Linked DNA regions of Homo sapiens: regions 1 and 3 are each linked to region 2. The links are contacts of gene promoters, found by promoter capture Hi-C in human tissues and cell types (Jung and others, 2019). All regions are on one chromosome and are shown on one strand. Each heading gives the region's core, a stretch centred on a gene start or on the middle of the fragment in contact. The rest is flanking DNA. Distances are from core to core; before and after follow the strand shown.

Region 1 (2,757 bases), core at 153-2,652, 56 kb before region 2:
TTAATAAAAGCTTATTCTCTTAAATCTTGGAAACAAGATTTGTATTAAATTATTCTCCTAATTGTTTTATCTATTTTATAAAAAAATAAACTGCAAGTATCAGAAGACTTACAGTAGTTAAATTAAAGAGTAGCTGGGCACGGTGAATCATGCCTGTAATCCCAGCACTTTGGGAGGCGAGGCAGGAGGATCCCTTGAGCCCAGGAGTTGCAGACCAGCCTGGACAATATAGGTAGACCCTGCTTCTACAGAAAATAAAAAAAATTAGCTGGGTGTGGTGGTGCACACCTGTGGTCCTAGTTGTTTGGGAGGCTGAGGTGAAAGAATCACTTGTGCCCAGGAGGTTGAGGCTGCAGTGAGCTGTGATCACACTACTGCACTCCTGCCTGGGTGACAGAGTAAGATCCTAACTGAAAAAGTAATGTAAAAAGCCAGGCATGTGACTCATGCCTTAATCTCAGTACTTTGAGAGGCCAAGGTGGGAAGATTGCTTGAAGTCAGCAGTTTGAGACCAGCCTGGGCAACATAGCGAGACCCCTGTCTCTACAAAAATACAAATAAAACAATTAGCTGGGTGTGGTGGCATGTGCTTGTAGTCCCAGCTACTTGGGAGGCTGAGGCAAGAGAATCACTCGAGCCTAGGTGTTCAGGCTGTAGTGAGCTATGATCAAGCCACTGCACTCCAGCCTGGGCAACAGAGCAAGATCACGTCTCTAAAAAAAATAAGCAAGTAATATGCAGTTTCCCCCCTGTGGTAACATCTTGCAAAACTATAGTGCAATATCACACCCAGATATTGGCCTCGATACAGTCAAGATGCAGAACAGATCCATCATCACAAGGACCCTCCTGTTGGCTTTCATAGCCACACCAACTGCTCCTTATCCCCTAGAATCCACTGATCTATTCTCCCTTTCTAATTTTGTTGTTTCAATAATTTTGTATGCCTTCATACAGTCTTTTTGGGATTGGCCTTTTTCACTTCCATGGTTCTCTGGTTGTTGAGTTTATCAATACTGTAGTTTATTCCTTTTTGTGGTTGATACAGACTTCTATACTATGATCTGGATATGCCACAGTTAGTTTAACTGTTCACCCACTGTAGAACATCTGGTTTGTTTCCTGTTTTCACTTTTGTGAATAAAGCTGCTAATAAATATTCATGTCGAGGGGAAAAAAGCAATGTGGATTAATTGTCTCATTTTTCTATTTTTCTTATAAGTACCTTACTTGTCAGAAACTTGATCTTTAAAATAAGTGATGCACTTGGTGAAAATTTATTGAGTTGTACACTTGCGTGTACTTTTCTGCCAGTATGTTATATATTTGAGTGAAACATTTATTTAAAAATAATTAGATTTTTTTTCCCCTCTGGGGTTTACTTAGGTTGGATTCAGATGCCGAGGACACAGTACTTCCTCAGAAAGAAGACAGAATTTGCAAAAGAGACCAGATAATAAGCATTTAAGCTCTAGTCAATCCCATAGAAGCGATCCAAATTCTGAGTCTTTATATTTTGAGGTATTTTTTTCAAACTCTATTTGTAAGCTGTTATAGGAAATGTTCCCATTAAGAAATTAATTTGTTACATTGTGAACATTGTGAGTACTTTTTATGTCTTAACATGTGATTCTAGTATTAAATTATAAATTACTCAGAAGTATTAACTCATTTTTGTCTTGGTTATATATATTTAATCTAACATTAATTTTACTGATGTTTATTTTTATAAATTTTTGTCCTGTGTGTTCATCATTTAGGGGGTAATGTATAGAGGTAGAACTTGATTTCATGTGGACTTTATTTAGTATGGAGCTTTTTCACTTAATTTTTGTTGTTATTCAATCCATTTGAAAGGCTTTTCAGATTTGAGTAGTTCAGTCTAGTTAAGTTGTGCTGCCAGCCAGGAGAATTTTAGAGAAGGAAGAAAAATGTTTTACTTTCTCTGATAGACAGTTCATATCCTAATTGCACTGTTATTCATCTAACAGATTCTTACTGGTGGTCTAGTATATGTGTGCAGTAAGGTGCTCTGAATGATACATTAAGGTGAATAGACCTGCTATCTTTGGGAAAGTTGCTGTGTAGTAGAAGAACATAGGCATATACACACCTAATACTTAGTTGAGTGTGGTTAGAGTTGAGCGCAGAGACAGGTCACTTTGGGTTTGTGGCAGGGTAGGTAACATTTGAAATGAATTTAAAAAACAAGTAGAATTTGTATGTGTCAAGATGTTTTTCACCACACATCTCCGGTAACTCATTTGAGTAACTCATTTTGGTTGGATCATAAATTCTATTGAATGAGTTAATAGATGGGAGGTTAAACTGGAAAACTTGCTTGAGGTCAGAGGATAGAAATCAATAATATGCTGGGCGTGGTGGCTAATGCCTGTAATCCCAGCACTTTGGGAGGCCAAGCAGATCACCTGAGGTCAGGATCACTTGAGGTCAGGAGTTCGAGACCAGCCTGGCCAACGTGGTGAAACCCCATCTCTACTAAAAATACAAAAAGTTAACTGGGCATGGTGGCGGGTCCCTGTAATCCCAGCTAACTGGGAGGCTGAGGCAGGAGAATTGCTTGAACCCAGGAGGTGGAGGTTGCAGTGAGCCGAGATTGTGCCATTGCACTCTATCCTGGGCAACAATAGTGAAACTCCATCTCAAAAAAAAAAAAAAAAATCAATAATATGTTAGATAAGTTTAGTAATTGAGCCAAAGGACTTGAGAGTATATCTCAATTATTTTCTCAAGAAT
Region 2 (2,700 bases), core at 85-2,584:
TTAGTGAGATGGGCACTGTATGGAGCATTGGGCCTCGTAAGCCCTCATAACAACCCCATTAGATGGCTGCTGCCAACATATGAGGACATTCAGGCACGGAGAGGTAAAGTAACTTTCTAAAGGGAGCATATAATGAGGTCATCATAGCATAACAGAAGCAACACAGGGACCCAGGGACCCAGGGGAAGGCAGGAAAAATGAGAGGAAGAAAGCAGATGAGGAATGAGGAGGAATGAGAGGTAAATATTCTTGCCCAGAGCCTGTCTCCTCAGCCCCAGGGATGTGGGGTCCAACTGATTTAGCTACTTCCCTCAGTTTTGCCAGGAGGAGATGTAGGGCAGGGAAAAGGAGGTCAACAAGGATTGAAGGGAAGATTTATGAAGATGCAGAAAGGCCTTTCCAGGGAAAGAAATGTCTGAACAGGCTTGGCAGACAGGATGTGATGGGTGCTTTATTTCCCTGGGGGACCAGGGAGCTTGGGAGGAGGATGCCGCTTTCACTGGTCACTCTCAACCATTTAATTCAGAACCTGTGTTTGGATCCCAAGGGAGCTCAGGCTCCCAAAGTCATGAATATACATAAGCCTAATCCAGCATTAGGGACAATAAGATAATGAAGGTGGCACCCTTAATTCCTTTGGTTGCCAGTTTGTCTTAATTTTTTAATTAATGAACAATTTCAGATGTCAAAGCCTTGAGACACGGAGTAATGCAATCTTTTCTGAGAGTTCTTTATCTCTTCCTATGTGTGATTTCCACCCCACCCCGACACCCCACACCCCCAGTGTTTCAGCAGTTTCCTCTTCTCCATTCCTGAAGAACCTGCATTTCCTTTTCCCAGCTCTGGTTTTGGCTTCCTGTGTGCTAAGCCTTTGCAGTTGTCATCATGTCTTCAGGATGCATTTGATAGGTACAGGAAGTCGCACCAGACGGAAGATGGAACCAACAATCAATAAAAAAAGAACTATGTTTCTAAGAAAAATGCATCATGGCTTCCCACAGGAGTTGTGAACCATATGTCCTAATATCCCTGTAACAATGGGTCTAATTTTTAGCTCTTCTGCTCTGCCCTCCCGGCCATCTCAACAAGAAAGAAAATAGATCTTTTAACCTGCTGCTCCCCGGCTAATGATCTGTAGTAAAGATTGCCTTTCCTTTTAACTCATTCATCAGATACCACAAAATAAAATACGTCCCTCCTCTCCCGCTAGCTTTATTTCTCTCGGCTACTAGTTTAGTATATTTATGGTGTATGAGTCATCAAGCTGCCTCCTGATTGGATAAAAACCAAGCACCTCTGAGACCGTCAGTCAATTACAGCTATTCTCAGCTTCATTCACAGATTTATTAGCTTGCACACACACAGAGAAATTCATTCGGCAAAGTTCATTCATAAAAATTTCAACACGCTGCGTATCATCCTGCACATCTCAGCTTTCGGCTGCAAATGGGCTTCTGAAAAAAGCTCCGAGAGGAATCCAGGAGGGAGGGAAGCTCTGAGCGAGGGTAGGCAGGCTGGGAGGGGATCTGAGGAACACGGACCCATCACAAGTCAGTGAAACAATGCGGAGCAGCGCCCGTCAGTAGTACTCCTGGCTGGTGGCCCAGAACGGGATGCAAGACAAGATCTTCCAAGAGAGGGCAGCCTTTGGAATCAACGAACCCAGGCAAAAGGGCCTTTGGTTCATAGATACATTTTTTTTTCCTTTTTAAATGAACAATCACTGGAACAAATAAAGGGTTAATAGGCCAGTCATTTGCCCCGCCCTGTGAGAGCCGAAGGGAGCAGGTTCGAAAGTTCCTGTGTGCAGAACAGAAGGCTGGGGTGAGGGTGGGAGTCGGGTGCTAAATATTTCTACTAGGCTCCTGCAAGGCTAGTGATGCAGCGGGCCCCCCGACCGGCGCTCGCCCGGGTTCTGCGCCTAAGAGTTGGCCGTGAGCGACCCGCGCCGCCGGGAGCCTGGGTCTAGGCTCTCCCGACAAGGATTCCAAGGCGAGAACACTGGTGCCTCTGCCTGGGCCAGGGAGAGACTGAAATCAGAGCAGGGGAGGCGTTTCCCCCATGGGCTGTCACCCTTAAGGGGCCGGGAGCCGAGGTGGGCGAGCTCGAGAGCAGAGTTGGAGAGGTGGCTGCTGTGAGTTGCATCGGGCGTTGAGGTATCTGATGTCTGCACCGTTTATCTACCAGACGACGAGGCGATTTATGCAACAGTATCCTGTTTCAGCACTGCCAAGGCTATGCGAGAACGCGGCCAGGACAGCCTGGCAGGACTCGTGCTGTATGTAGGACTCTTCGGGCACCCCGGGATGCTGCACAGGGCCAAGTACAGCCGCTTTCGGAACGAGTCGATCACGTCCTTGGACGAAGGTAGCTCCGGAGGCTCGGTCGGGAACAAGGGCTCGCCGCAGCCTCCCCACCCCGCCCTGGCACCTCACCTGCCGACTGAAGATGCCACCTTGCCGTCGCAGGAGAGCCCCACCCCACTGTGCACCTTGATCCCCCGCATGGCAAGCATGAAGCTGGCCAACCCGGCCACTTTGCTGAGTCTGAAAAACTTTTGCCTGGGTACCAAAGAGGTGCCTCGGCTGAAGCTCCAGGAAAGCCGGGACCCAGGTTCCAGCGGCCCCTCTTCCCCAGAAACCAGTTTAAGTAGGTCCGGGACTGCACCTCCACCGCAGCAGGACCTGGTGGGACACAGGG
Region 3 (2,816 bases), core at 120-2,619, 44 kb after region 2:
TGAGGTCAGGGATTTGAGATCACCTGATCAACATGGTGAAACCCTGTTTCTACTAAAAAAATACAAAATTAGCCAGGCATTGTGGCACACACCTGTAATCCCAGCTACTTGGGAGGCTGAGGCAGGAGAATTGCTTGAACCCGGGAGGCGGAGGTTGCAGTGAGCCGAGATTGCACCATTGCACTCCAGACTGGGCAACAAGAGCAAAACTCCATCTCAAAGGAAAAAAAAAAAAAAACGATAACTTCCCATTTCCTCTTCCTCCCCAGCCCCTGGCAACCACTGTTCTACTTTTTGTGTCTATGGATTTGACTGGTCTAGGTACCTCATAAAAGTGGAAACATACAGTATTTGTCCTTTTCTGTCTGGCTTATTTCCTTTAGCACAATGTATTCAAGATTAATTCATCTTGTAGCATGTGTCAGAATTTCATTCGTTTTTAAGGCTCAATACTACTCTCTATTGTACGTCTATACTACATTTTGTCTATTCATCCATCAGTCAATAGATAAATGGGTTGTTTTTCTAAAATTTTAATGACTGCATAACATTCTCTTCTCTTCCTCTGCCTCTTCCTCCTCCTCCTCCTCCTTCTCCTTCTTCTTCACCTTCTTCTCCTTCTCCTTCTCCTCCTTCTTCTTCTTCATATATAGAGACAAGAGTCTCGATATGTTGGCCAAGCTGATCTTAACTTCTGGGCTCATGGGATCCTCCCACCTCAGACTTCCAAAGTGCTGGGATTACAGGCATGATCCACCATGCCTGGCCTCTTCTATTTTTCATCATTATAAGTAATGCTGTGATTAACATCATATATATATCTTGATTATATTTCCAAAGGACAAATTCTAGAATTAGGATCACTAGGTCAAACAATATAAATGTTTTAAAGGCTTTTGATATGTATTGCTGGATGGCTCTGCAGTCTATTTGTACTAATTGGTACCCCCTTTTCCCAGCCATTTATCTATTTTTATCTACTTAAAAAAATCTCTGGCCGGGCGCGGTGGCTCATGCCTGTAATCCCAGCATTTTGGGAGGCTGAGGCAGGCAGAATAATTTGTAGATTTTTATTTTTACATACAACTAGAAACCTACCAAGTAAGATATAGGAAGTTACTAATGTTAAGAATTTGTAAATTAAAATGAGTGCATTATTCGGGTTTATCAAGAATGATCATTCATCACTCAGATGTGCAATATTACAAAGCTCCTGCTCATGCACAGTTGAAGGTAATTGGAATTCCCATGCCAGGCGCAGTGGCTCACGCCTGTAATCCCAGCACTTTGGGAGGCCGAGGCGGGCAGATCATGAGGTCAGGAGATCGAGACCATCCTGGCTAACACAGTGAAACCCCATCTCTACTAAAAATACAAAAAAAAAAAAATTAGCCAGGCGTGGTGGCAGGTGCCTGTAGTCCCAGCTACTCAGGAGGCTGAGGCAAGAGAATGGCGTGAACCCGGGAGGCGGAGCTTGCAGTGAGCCAAGATCGTGCCACTGCACTCCAGCCTGGGTGACAGAGCAAGACTCCGTCTCAGAAAAAAAAAAAAAAACAAACTCCGTGAACTTGTAGGCCTATATTTCCCTATTATTTTGTAAATAGTAAAAGGTGAACTGTTTTTTTTTTCCCCTCTCCTTTGAGGATTCAGTTATGTCTAACATACACACCAAGGGGAAGATATCTGGTATGGTATCTGGATATTGTTTCTTGTAGATGTGTCTATACATGATTCAGGCATGGCTGATTGTGTTCTAAGCAGTTATGGAAGCTCGAGTGTGATGGTCTTTTACTTTTAGATCTGGTGGTCAGGAAGTCCTATCTAAGGAGAGGACATTTGAGCTAGGGCCTGAATAAAGTAAGGGATCCAGCCATGAAAGTATCTGAAAGAAGAGAGCTGAAGGCAGAGGGAAGATGACCATGGACATCATGGGTCCATGGTGGCAACATTTGGGCAGGGAGTTTGATAAAAATGTGAGAGAGGTCAGGCATGGTGGCTCACACCTGTAGTCCCAGCACTTTGGGAGGCCAAGGTGAGAGAATCATTTGAGTCTTGGAGTTTGAGACCAGCCTGAGCAACAGAGTGAAATCCCATCTCTACCAAAAATAAAGCATGGTAGTGCAAGCCTGTAGTCCCAGATATGCTATAGGCCAAGGTGGGAGGATCACCTGAGCCTGGAAGGTCAAAGCTGCAGTGAATTGTGACCACACCACTGCACTCCAGCCCAGGTGACAGAGCAAGACCCCATCTCTACAAAAAAAAAAAAAAAAAAAATTAAAATAAATTTTTAAGAGTGTGAGAGGGTGTGCATCTTCTCCCAAGAGTGGATGCAAAAACATTCAACCGTCAACTCAGGAGAGGGAAACGCTGACTGGAGGGGAGGATCAAATTTTAAAATGTCCTATGGTGTCAAGTGGTCCTACTTGAAGTCTGGAGATTCCAGCCACCAGTAGACTAGGGACCTTATCCAGGGAGGTCTTGAAAGCAGTGAGGCTGATTTCCAAGTGCCAGGGCCAGACATCAGTCCCTTGCTTCAAAATCCTGTCCCCATCCCAGCTTCTTGAACTATTTCCCTGGGGCTTGTTGAATTTGAAATGCTGTGACTTGCAGCTACTTGGGTGTGACAGCAGACCTGGGAAGCCCTGACCCAGAAGGGAGAAGGAAAAACCCCATCAAAGAAGGGTAAATTTAAAAAAAGAGAGAAGATATAAAATAGATTATCTCTCACTTTAAAGAATTAGCAAAAAATCAAAATTTGCTGAACAGAAAAATTATATTGCAGAATTCACCTCTGACTTCCTTTTAATGGTGAATTC

What was found. The method cuts DNA at HindIII sites, captures the fragments that hold promoters and counts their contacts. A contact is called where the count stands out against the background at its distance.
Region 1: a fragment that was not itself captured here is called in contact with the fragment with the promoter of SHC4 in region 2 in 3 of the 25 tissues and cell types used here (IMR-90 fibroblasts, adrenal gland and aorta).
Region 3: a fragment that was not itself captured here is called in contact with the fragment with the promoter of SHC4 in region 2 in 1 of the 25 tissues and cell types used here (bladder).

Annotation. Positions count from the first base shown.
Region 1 is chr15:49,018,182-49,020,938 of GRCh38, reverse strand. SECISBP2L (SECIS binding protein 2 like) reads left to right here. Exons shown (of 18, transcript NM_001193489.2): 8 at 1,387-1,521. Among named protein-coding and RNA genes, the nearest start is that of SECISBP2L, 27 kb to the left of the region's middle. The HindIII fragment of the contact is 7,040 bases long and covers 1-2,757 here.
Region 2 is chr15:48,962,553-48,965,252 of GRCh38, reverse strand. It overlaps SHC4 (SHC adaptor protein 4), which reads left to right and starts at 1,334. Exons shown (of 12, transcript NM_203349.4): 1 at 1,334-2,700. The coding sequence starts at 2,238. RefSeq lists enhancers at 1,856-2,357, 2,358-2,700. The HindIII fragment of the contact is 15,905 bases long and covers 1-2,700 here.
Region 3 is chr15:48,918,754-48,921,569 of GRCh38, reverse strand. The region is part of intron 2 of SHC4 (SHC adaptor protein 4); the gene reads left to right. Among named protein-coding and RNA genes, the nearest start is that of EID1, 42 kb to the right of the region's middle. The HindIII fragment of the contact is 9,487 bases long and covers 1-2,816 here.